Regions from separate parts of the Homo sapiens genome. Here region 1 is linked to region 2. Evidence: promoter capture Hi-C in human tissues and cell types (Jung and others, 2019). All regions are on one chromosome and are shown on one strand. Each heading gives the region's core, a stretch centred on a gene start or on the middle of the fragment in contact. The rest is flanking DNA. Distances are from core to core; before and after follow the strand shown.

Evidence for each region. Contacts are between HindIII fragments. The study calls those that stand out against the background at their distance.
Region 1: a fragment that was not itself captured here is called in contact with the fragment with the promoter of LSMEM1 in region 2 in 1 of the 25 tissues and cell types used here (heart left ventricle).

What each region holds. Positions count from the first base shown.
Region 1 is chr7:111,934,189-111,940,093 of GRCh38, reverse strand. It overlaps DOCK4 (dedicator of cytokinesis 4), which reads left to right. Exons shown (of 53, transcript NM_001363540.2): 12 at 4,466-4,554. Among named protein-coding and RNA genes, the nearest start is that of DOCK4-AS1, 130 kb to the right of the region's middle. The HindIII fragment of the contact is 3,128 bases long and covers 105-3,232 here.
Region 2 is chr7:112,479,620-112,486,012 of GRCh38, reverse strand. LSMEM1 (leucine rich single-pass membrane protein 1) reads right to left here and starts at 5,022. Exons shown (of 4, transcript NM_182597.3): 1 at 4,667-5,022; 2 at 1,070-1,201. The coding sequence starts at 1,196. The HindIII fragment of the contact is 9,789 bases long and covers 1,632-6,393 here.

The sequences.
Region 1 (5,905 bases), core at 419-2,918, 540 kb after region 2:
TGGTGATGGCTGGGGTAGGCACAGGGGTACATGTGGGTCCTACTTGGGCGAATGCTACTTTAGGTGGGTAGAGAAGAACAATGGGTGGTTTATGAGCCATTCCTCAAAAACCCAGTAATCTGTAGACTTGTTGCAAGTGAGCCTACAAGCCACAATTTGCCAGTCAGAGGAATTACTGAATTAAGAACCAATGAGTACAGACAGTTTACCAGTTAGGTAGACCGTCTACTATGTGGGATACCACCTTTGAATTTATAAACCTAGCACGTCTTTACCTTCAGACAGTCAATGTGTTCTTGGAAAGTGAAAGTACTTTTTGAAGTAAATTTATTAGAATTGGGGAAGGGAAGCCCAGATGACTTCCATCCTACTCTAGGTGTTAGTTTGCTGGGCCTGCCCTAACCAAGTACCACAAACTGCATGGCTTAACCCATTTATGCCTGAGGTTGCAATTTTTTGAAATTTTTGCAATCCTATCTCGGCGATGACCTTGAGCAGTAGGATATAAATAACTCCACATGCTTAGCATTCCAATAATGGAACACTAGGCATAAGTAAATTTTTTTTTTTTTTTTTTTTGAGAAGGAGTCTCGCTCTGTTGCCCAGGCTGGAGTGCAGTGGTGTGATCTCAGCTCACTGCAAGCTCCGCCTCCCGGGTTCACGCCATTCTCCTGCCCCAGCCTCCTGAGTAGCTGGGACTACAGGCGCCCGCCACCACACCCAGCTAATTTTTTGTATTTTTAGTAGAGACGGGGTTTCACCGTGTTAGCCAGGCTGGTCTCAATCTCCTGACCTTGTGATCCACCTGCCTCAGCCTCCCAAAGTGCTGGGATTACAGGCGTGAGCCACCACCCCCAGCCCATAAATAGATTTTAAACAATAGAAATGTGTTGTCTCACATTTCCCAGATGAAGATATTAGTATAGTTGGCTCCTTCTGAGGGCTGTGAGGGCAATCTGCTCCGTGCCTCTCTCCTGGCCTCCGGTGCTTTGCTGGCAGTCACTGGGGGATCCATGGCTTGTAGACGCGTCACTCTGATCTCTGCCTTCATCTTCACATGGTGTTCATGGCTTTCTCTGGGTCCAATCCCCCACCCCCCCAACTTTTTTTTTTTTTTTTTGAGACAGAGTCTCGCTCTGTCACCCAGGCTGGAGTGTAGTGGAGCAATCTCGGCTCACTGCAACCTCCGCCTCCCAGGTTCAAGAGATTTTCTGCCTCAGCCTCCTGAGTAGCTGGGATTACAGGCGCATGCCACCATGCCTGGCTACAAATTTCTCCTTTTTATAAAGATACAGTCATATTAGAGTGTGGTTCACCCTAATAACCTTCTTATATGATTATCTCTGTAAAGACGCTCTTTCAAATAAGGTCTTATTCTGAGGTACTGGGGGTTAGGACTTCAACGTTACCTTTGTTGGGGGATACAGTTTAACCCATGGTTCTCTACTAAGACAGTTACTTGATATATTCCAAATCCTAAGTTAAATGATTTTTTTAAATGCACATGGGTTTGGCCCACACCACCGTGCCACCTCCCCACAGGCTTGGACGTTGAGGCCTAATATACAGCAACATCTTCAGAGCAGACTTATTAGGGTTTCCACACTCCTGGTTTGAGGACCACACCATTGGCTACCTCCATGAGTGAACTGGCTTTCGTATTCCATTCTGGAGGTTGTGTTAATATACCTAATATGTGCCAGTAGATTTTTCATAGGTGATGGTAACACAAGTGGCCCACTGCCTATGGGACATATACTTAAAATTGCCTTTTTGACCTCTGCTGCAGGGTTTCATGGATTTTTCTACTCTCCATCCAATGGGACCTATGTAACACATTCAATAATTCATTGACAAAGATTTATCTATAGTCTGTGGTTTAGGACCGGTAACTCTCTTCATCCCTCTTAAAAAGGAAAACACCTGTGATGTTGATGTTAAACTTGAAAACTTTTGGTGAAATTAGTGGGTGGTAAAAGTTGCTACTCTTTTTATCACATAGCAACCCTCAATTTCAGTGGTTAAGCTTAAATCCATGATACCCTTCTTTCCATACTTAACTGGTGGTCATAAAACGTAGTTTATTTGAAATGCTAATGACTGATAATAACCACCCTTTACTGTGTGCTTACTATGTGTGAGGAACTGTGTTAAGCACTTTGCATGTGTCGTATCCTTTTGTCCTCACAACAAACCCATGAAGCAGACAGACGCTCCTACTCAGTTTTACTCATAGGGGAACGAGAGTTAAATAACTTGCCCCATGTTGCCTAGCTAATAAGAAAAGGAAGCAGATTTGAGGTCAGGACTGTCTTGCTCCAGCATCTGAGCTCTCCAGTTAATAATTTGTATTTTTCCAGGTGTTATTTCACACCATAGTCTAGTAAGGTGATGATGCTGCTGTTATGTGGCTTTTTAAGCAAACTGAAATTCCTCACAAACACACTCTCATCATTTCTTAAAGTAGTCTTTCCAGGTGTGAGTAGCAAGTATTGTATTTATCCTGTCAGTGGGAAAACAGAGGGACAGACAGTCCCATCATCACCCTTTATGAGGCAGCCAGCGGAATAAGACCTATGCATTCCAGCCCTGCCAATGGGAGACAGTCACACTCATGAAGACAAATTGTTCTGCTCTTTGTGTTTTTTTTTATTGTCTGCTTTTCCATAAGCATCAAATAAGGTTTTGGGTAATTCTTAATAGAAGATAAATTCCTGAAAAATGCCCATTCAGCAAATAGTGATGCTGTTTCAAGAGTAATACTAACCAGTCAAAACAGTCACTGTAGATTAGGAAGGAACTGTGAATTTAGTCAAACATGGGAAAGTGCCTGTTAGAAAAAATTGGGGAGAAATTTCTATTTGATAAGGTGACTGAACCCCCAGCCCTTCTGGGACTCAAAGAACAGTAGCAAATGCCTGCCTGAGCCTGGAAGATACTTTAGTCACATACTTTAGGAGCTTTTGTTTGTTTGTTTGTTTGTTTTGAGTTTTGAGTTTTGTAGGTTAAAAGCATGAATTCTGGAATCACTTAACTATCTAATAGGAAGCAAGCCATCTTTCTTTCTTCCCCACTGGGCTGAAATAAGAAAACTGGAGGCAGAATGTGCTAAATGGCAGTTTGGTGTCTTACAACTAGACAGGTGGGATGGTTTCATTCCATCTTAATTTTCCAGCCCTCTTAAGATTCGGCGCTCATTTAGATATCCCACTGTTAATTGGCTCAAAAATCACCTCCATCATGTTCATCCTGCAAAATCCTGTGGCAATAAAATAAATAAAAATGTGAGCAAACAATTATGAATTATCTGCCTCAGACTTGATCACTAGGAAACAGAACCTGCGCTGTGGGAGATTTTGATTGATAGTGTACAGAATCTTGATGTTCAGGCCTCTTGGGAGGATGCATTCATGGCTAATAAAGTAGTGAATTTACACATATGTTCAGATGAAGGAACTTTTCCCCAGCCAATCTGGGAGAGTAGTGGCAGTAAGGATGGATAACAGAACCACATGCTTACAAATCATTATGAGTTACCAGGCAGAGGGACATCCATCCATCCGTCCATCCATCCATCCATCCATCCATCCATCCATCCATCCATCCATTCATACCACTGACAGTTTTTAAGCATCCACAGCATTCAAAGTACTAAAGGAAACTCAAATATCAGCCAGTCCTAGATCCAGTCCTCAAGAACCTTAACAGTCTCCCAGGTGAACTACACCACGTAAACAAAGATAACATGACCTAATGAGTGATAAAAGCTAAGAGAAAGAGGTACAGATTGCTGTGAAAAGACGGAGAGATGCCCCATGTGGAAGATCTGAAAGAGTAATTTTATTATTCTTTGGTAAATCCTGCCAGTCTTTTGCCAGTACAAGCTGTGTTAATGTCAATTTCATTTTGCTTAATTTGCTGCATTTTGATTCTGGACAAACCTGGTCATGTTACAGTAGGCAGAGACTTGCTAATGAGAACTAATTTACTGAGCATTTATTATATGCCAGGAATTACCCTAAGCCCATGTTAGTTTAAAGTTCTAGTATATTATCTGTGTTTCATAGGTGGGGAAATTAAGACAAGAGTAAATAAACTCACCTAAAGAACATAGCTTGGTTAATAGTGAGAATTTGAATCTGGGGAGTTGAACTCAGTTGGGGCTGCCTTCCCCTGTATACATTGTTCTCTGAGATTTCTGTCTGTTTTGGGGCCACTTGTAATCTGCGAAGTGTTATCCCAGCTGCTTCTGTCATGAGGTAGGTGGTCAGGCATTACCAGATACGGACATTCTTGCTCATCCTGGGACAACCATGCTAAAACTGACAGTCAGTTGCAGCAGGTTGATGGGGACCTCAAGGAGGTACATTATAGTGGTTATAACGAAAAGGGCAGATGTACTATGAGGATCACTGCTTGACTGCATGCATCATTAAAGCTTAACAGAGTGTTAATGTTTTCATAGGTGTAACACAGAGAGTGAGTGGTACCAAATCCATGAGAACATCATCAAAAAGCTGAATGCACGTTATAACTTGACTGGCTCCAATGCAGGTGAGTGTATGGGCTGGCTGACTTTCCCTACACTTTTCGTTCCAAGCCCTTTTTTTTGTTTGTCTGTTTGGGAAGGAAATTATCAGCCCTTTGTTTTTCTGTCTATTCACTCCCTAACTTTAAAAATGCTCAATGAACATTCTGGTATGTCTTCCTATGCTATGATAGGGTTGTACTTATAACTCCCTATAAAAAATGTATTCTATTCTTGTTGAAACGAAAAAGATAATCTGAATTTGTTCTTTGGTACCAAGTCTTCATACTCCTAAGTTGTTATTGAAAACTAAAAATCAGCCAGGCACGGTGGCTCACGCCTGTAATCCCAGCACTTTGGGAGGCCGAGATTAGTGGATCACCTGAAGTCAGGAGTTCGAGACCAACCTGGCCAACACAGTGAAACCCCGTCTCTACTAAAAATACAAAATATTAGCTGGGCATGGTGGCAGGTGCCTGTAATCCCAGCTACTCGGGAGGTTGAGAAAGGAGAATTGCTTGAACCTGGGAGGCGGATGTTGCAGTGAGCTGAGATTGTGCCATTGCACTCCAGCCTGCGTGACACAGTAAGACTCTGTCTCAAAGAAAAAAAAAAAAGCAAGCTAAAAATCACATGACAAATATGATGCTTGGATTTGTGACTGTTCTGTGGAAATAAGTTTGATAAATAGCAATTTTTAGTGAGGTCCAATAAAAACATGCTTCGCGGCCGGGCGCAGTGGCTCACGCCTGTAATCCCAGCACTTTGGGAGGCCGAGGCGGGCGGATCACGAGGTCAGGAGATCGAGACCATCCTGGCTAACACGGTGAAACCTCATCTCTACTAAAAAAAAAAAAAAAATACAAAAATTAGCCGGGCATGGTGGCAGGCACCTGTAGTCCCAGCTACTCCGGAGGCTGAGGCAGGAGAATGGCGTGAACCTGGAAGGCGGAGCTTGCAATGAGCCAAGGTCGCGCCACTGCACTGCAGCCCGGGTGACAGAGCAAGACACTGTCTAAAAAAAAAAAAAAAAAAAAAAAAACAAAAACAAAACAAAACATGCTTCGCTGCCTATGGCTGGCTTTGAGCAGCAACATTATTGACAAACATACAGGTTCACACATTGAAGTTGGCTAAAAAAGAAAGTGATGCTGATTGCAGTGGCATGTGAAGAAAAATGTGTGTGTGCTTGTTCAGAGAGGAACTGAAATATATACCACTATAAGTCGTATGAGGTACATAGTATTGTACTAGTAACATATAGTATATACTACATTATATAGCATATATAGATTGCATAGCATAAATAATGACATCTTTAGGTTTGGTCAGTAGACAAAAACTTGGTGAATATTGTTTGTTCTTATCCACCATTCA
Region 2 (6,393 bases), core at 3,773-6,272:
TTTTATCGACAGCTTGGTTCACTCAAACCAAGAATTGACTGCATTTAATCACCGTTTTGCAAGATCTAGTTGCCTAATAACACCCAGATTATTTGTTGCAGTGAATAAGCAACGCAGAAACCTGGGGTAGTGGAGATCACTGGATTACTTTTTGCATACTCTCCTACGTTGAATTGGTCCCACTCACTGTGCCACTTGATTATGGACAGATGGGTGGCTTATGTCCCATGCCTTATAAGTACATCCTATGCCATACGCTTCAGCCACTTTTGCTTCCTAATCAAAGCAACAGCATAGGGCTGACACCTAAACTTCTACTGCTATTGAGACTGACAGCAATAAAAACAGATGAAAATTTGAACTTATTAAAATGAAGAAAAAAAGGAGGAACTTGGAAAGGATTTAGACAGGAAATAATAGATATAAAATTGGAACAGTAAGTTTAGAGTGCATATGAAACAAATGGCAAGTGAGCAATTAACACTGGTGTTTGAATGTCAGCATTTAAGCTAGAAAAGATGGCACTCAGAGTGATCTGATAAAGCTCATTTATAATATTTAGGAGGCAAGATACACACTTAGTATTTAGCAGATTTTATTTTGCTCCCCCCACCCCCTTTCTCCAACCCTTAATTGCACAATTTGTAACTTGTAAGTAGAAAATGCTCTGGATTGAGCATTCTCTCAGCAATCTGCTATAAAACAACACTCCTGTGGGAAGTGGTCCCCATCGGTAACCTAGCCATGGTCACTAGGAGAGGGATGAGCCAGCCTCCAGGAGTCCAGCTCTGCAGGCTCCACCCCTTTCCAGGGACAGAAACGCCACAGGATCTCAGAATATTTGAAGTCAAGAGTTCAAATCTCGTGTAGGATCCAAGAAAGCCCATAATCCTGTCAAGTATTCAGAAAACAAAAGCAAAATTGCCCAACAACAAATAACATTTCCAGTGCCAACCTCTTCCTAATGCCCCCTCCCCCTCCACCACACCCACACATCCAGTCAGCAGTGGCTATTTTTAGGTAGCCTAGAAGCTAGGAAGGGCTGCTGTGCCTTCCCCAGCACACATACGGAACAGATGCTGCGATCCGGCTGGACAGAGGTTTAGTTTGTTTAAGTCATTTATGGAATCCACCACATAAAGCTTTCCATCTTCCTGAATGCCACAAGAACCAGTGTCCTGGGAAGAATGAGTCATTGTCCCTGGAAGAAAACACTGATGTTAAAAACAAGAGGTTGGGCTTGTGAACTCAACTTCACAAGAACCACAGCCACCAGGAAGCCAGACAGGCCTATGAAGAACCACCCACAAATAGTATTTTCAACTAAGGCTCTAGAGAACTTGGCTTATCCAGAAAAAAATATTTCCTTCTGTGGACCACTTTGTAATCGTTCTTTTTGCTTTGCTTGCCAGGAAGCTCACAGTCAAATGTGTGGCCCAATTTTAAGAATTGTACATCCATGTATACCCTGCTTATCTGCAAACACTCTTTTCTCCTCCTCAGATGTCTCAGTTCTGCCTATATTTTCCCTGGATCTGTTTTTATTTTGTAACTAATTTTAAAATTTTTCTTTTATTACATTGTTCACATTCTGGTGAGATGCCTCAAATCCTTTGTGCAAGAAGACTAGGTAGACAAAATTAAGCTAGTCAGCAGTGGCCACAAAACATTCTGAAAAAAGAGAATATTACCATGAACCATTCTAATTGCAGGAGGCTTTAATAGAAAATTGCAATTTTTATAGCCTCCCTCCATATGGCATGTAAGTCCTTCTCTTCACACAATTCCTTTAGCCATAAGATGCTGACTGTGAGTCCCCAAGACAACAATCTTAGCAAACTTAGCTGCTATAGAGAGGAATGCTGCTAGACTTCAGGACCTCTGAGATCTCTTCCACCTGGGTTTCCCTTAGACTGAGGTCACTTATGTAATAGCTTGAGGTTTATTAAATATTGAAAGTAATATTCTCTAACGACAGCACAACTGCAAGCAACACTGAAAATCCTGAAGAGTTTAAAAGGTTTATGTGGAGATGTATCTCTAGCACAACAGAGAACTTGTGGCCATTTAATTATGTGAAAAGAAGCCTCTAGAAAGACAAATTTCAATTACTATAAAAGCTTTTCCTTTCATGGTTATCAAGTCTAATCGTGATAGAGGATGTTTGGATCTAGAAAGGGTGTTAGATGTGCTTTAGTTCCCATCCTTTCCGCAAATGAGGAAATGGAAGCTCGGCGAGGTAAATGCCCAGGATCACACATTTGCCTGGCAGCAGAGCTGGAATCGGGCCTTTTGTTCAGCATTCAATGAGTCTTGCTTTGTGCTACTTTTCTTTTCTATATCCCTTCCTAATCCTGCCTCAAGACTCAGCTCAAACATCACTTCCCCTAGGAAGAGAGAACCAACCTGTCTTTCCTTTTGCCTTTGCTGGATTCTTTACATTCTTCTATCAGAACATCTGTAGTATTTTATTGCATCTATTTGCTTACATCTTTGATTTCCCGATAGACTGAAAACTCCTTAGAGTAGGGACGAATCCTATTCTTCAAATGCCCAGTGCCAGGTTTAGAAGTTGGTGACTTATGTTAAGATGGAACACCTGAAATGTTTATTTAGGATTTAAATCTCACCATTTTCAAAAGAATTGGAGGCAGTTAATAATAAGTACATGAACAGAAATAAGATTGAGGATAAAAATCCTCATGTGATGTCTATCTGGACTCTAGTAAAGTCAATGCGATAAATATGGTGCCTGTGTGTATTTGACAACACACTGTTTACTTTCTGTTGTTGCAAAAATTTCCTTTAAAACTCATCTACAGAATGAAGAGCAATATAGAGTTGGGAGAAACCAAATTCATAAAAAAAAAAAAAAAGTATACACCTAAAGAAGATGTGGGGAAAAAAAGTATCAGACACTTACTGAGCAATTTAAACTTAGTCTAAAATATTAAAAAAACAATTTCCCAGTAATACCTAAAACTACTGGTACTTGTGAAAAATGTGCTACCAGAACCCTAGCTAAGAAAGTGAGCTCAAAAAGTCATGGACTAAAAATTTTTTTTAGGGTTAAAACTAAAAAAGTGTGTTTCACTTATCTTGAAATTTTAATTAACAAGAACAAACAATTCCCTGAGTTTTCAGATAAGATACTACCATAGCACTTTATTGACATTACTGAATTCCAAATATACTTCATAGAGCATTCCTAAGGAAATGACTTGATATGACAATTAAAAAAAATTAAAAAGCAGCAGCAAATAGAGTAAAAGGGCCTTAGAGGTCAGTCAAATCTTATCCTTTTGCAGTTAAAACCAAGGCCCCAAAATATTCACTCATGCATAGTCACAGATTTTAAAACAATTCTTTTAGATGTGTTTCATATTTTATCATCCATTTATACTAATATTTGACCAAACAGTAATATGTGACCAGGAAAAAAAGTTTTATGTGTCACATCACAGGACCACTGTTCTGCACACAGCTTCTATTTTAGGTGTGGTAACTGAAGCATGGTTCATTTTTGGATCTCTGACTTAATAGCCTTGAGCCTTAGCTTCCCCTTCAGGAATGTATCTGCTGTTGCTTCAATTTCATACTGAGGCTTAATCAATGTTTACAAAATAGAGACCTAGCTAGAAAATCATGGCCACAAAAACTGACTTTAAGAGTACAGCTAATAAAATCTCCATATTACTGGTCTTGCTATCTACTCAAAAGGTGACTCCAAAAAAAACTAAGACAACAACCTAGTGAGCCATGACGTGCTTTGAAAGAAAATGTCTTCTTTAGAGTGAAGTCACAATGTAAATATATGCTATTCCAATATTTTTTTAATGAGCTGCAACACGCAAATGGAAAAATAAAGAACTAGCAGAGAAAACTGAGTTGGGTGCTGTTCCAGGGCTCCAAGAGCCTGCAAATGACTTGCAAATGACTCATGAGGCTGCTAGTAAAGGGATACAAGATCACATGGCCTTAAAACCAGGCCCCACGGCTGTTTGACACCCAGTAGTTGCTATCTTTGGCATCTCCAAATGAGGGCATCTAGGAACAACCAGCAAGGCTGGAGAAGCCAGTGTTACTAGCAATTCTTCATCACACTAACTTGACCCTCCTTTCAACTCCAGTGTGCAAATTTGCTTATTCACCAAGATTGGCTAAAGCAGCATCCCTTTAACAGAACCCTTTCTTATACCTTGACTGGAAACATGTAAGTAATTTCATTTTCCTCTGGTTTAGATCACTGCTAACAGTTGATTTTTTGTCATTTAAGAATTCTTTGACTATTTACAAATAAATATTCCAACAAATAAAGATAATTGTCTATGAAAAATTGCCTGGTGCTTTATTTTTTAACCAGGCAGGTGCTTGGTATCAAACCACAGAAATAACTCACACCAGTATTGCTTGCCACAAAATCAGAATTGTTATAATAGGGCATAATTCAAAGCTAATAAGCAGTGTTATTGAATGAGTCATGGTAATTTGTTCTTTAATTTCATTTCCCAGTCAATGCCTCTTCACATTCAGGAAGTAATTTTTAAAATCAAGTCTAAATCATTTCTATCAAAAATGAAAAACACAGAGCACATGCAACAAAAACTTCCCAGACTCGAGAATCATAATTCAGTCTCAGTAGAGTAATAGCATGCAAATTACTTACAAAAATGTGAGCTTTGACTGCTAGGTTACCAGAAAAACAAAACAAAACAAAACAAACAAACAAAAACTAATTGTTCAGAAGCAACTACAACAAAACTTTTCTACAAATTCTGTAGTTCTCTCTTTGCCTTTCTTCAGCATACGGGTGCTCCTATGAGACCCATAAGCCCCAGGATGAAACTGTTGGTCTATATTGTGTCAATTTAGCCAAGCAGTGTAAGATTCCAAATCCTGACTTTTTTCATAATGTCTAAGGTTTTTAGTAAATATATTACTAAAACTATGCTTTAAAAAGAAAACAACAAAAAAACACCATGCCCTGATTTAGTTGGTAACTGATGAGGTTTTTATTGGACTGAAGTTACCGTCCTTATCTGGCTGAAGCAACTGTTAGCTGACACCACCTTTCCAGCACTCCTGCCATGGTATGCTTCCATATATAAATATCCTGTAGCAGGCGGAAGCTGCCACTATGATGACTGACTTGCAAACACTCCAGACAAACCAGAGAACTGCAATAAACACGGACAGAATATGATTATGACATCATAACAAGGATGATGGCAGGTCAGACGCCTAGTGCTTCCAGTAGCTACAAAAAGCGATTGTGAGTGGGCGATTTCATGGATACAGACCCACCACAGGTGAAGGAAGCACTCCATCTCATCGGCCGCCTTTCCTTTACAAAGGCTTTGTTCTGTGAGTGTCTGCACATCCTCCTTTCTCAGGAATAACAGCCTTCCATATATGTGGTTCCCTCACATACATGCCAAGGAGCTTCTGCCCTCTGCTGTACATAAAAGATGCTACAGTGATGAGGAGACCAACTATCTCAGCAGGATACTAACAGTGAGGTTGTGAACAACTGTGCAATCCTTTATCATCCTCACTTCCATTGCCATAGCTTGATGGACATTATTCATCTTTGAAACATTTTTCATGTCAGTGAGAAAATAGGTGTTCCACAAAATTTTCTTTGAGACAGAGTCTTGCTGTGTTGCCCAGGCTGGAGCGCAGTGGCATGATCCCAGCCTACTGAGACCTTCCTGCTTCCAGATTCTCCTGCCTCAGCCTCCCAAGTAGCTGGGATTACAGGTATGTGCCACCATAGCTGGCTAATTTCTTTATTTTTAGTAGAGATGGGGTTTCACCATGTTGGTCAGGCTAGTCTTGAACTCCTGACCTCAAGTGATCCACCCACCTCGGCCTCCCAAAGTGCTGGGATTACAAACTTGAGCCACCATGCCCGGCCCAAAATTTTCTTTACACCTATATCCCATACGGACCTCACTCTGCTTTGGGGGAAGAGGAATGTCATTTTTTTTTTCCCTTCACACTACCTAGTCTAAGAGGGAATGTCATTTTTTCAAGCCTCATCTGTACCCAAAGACTAATTCTTGGAGGAAGACAATATAACTAGTAACTTTTCTCAGAAACATACGTTAAAAAGCTATGTCAAATTTCTCTGAATAATGAAAATGTTCATGTTAGCTATTATGCTGTTTTTAAGAAATCTCCCAACTACCTGATCTGCCTTGAGCCATGTATCCTTTGAAGATATAATAGAAGTAACTGCCTCATTTTGGGGCGTTTACTACTTTTCCTCTCCTGTAACTTCTAACTTTGTGGAATATTAACTTCCCCTGAAGGAGGAAGGAAATGGAGACTAAGGAATTTAATTGTTGAGGGATACACTGATTATAAGTGGCAGAGATGAGATGTAAACCC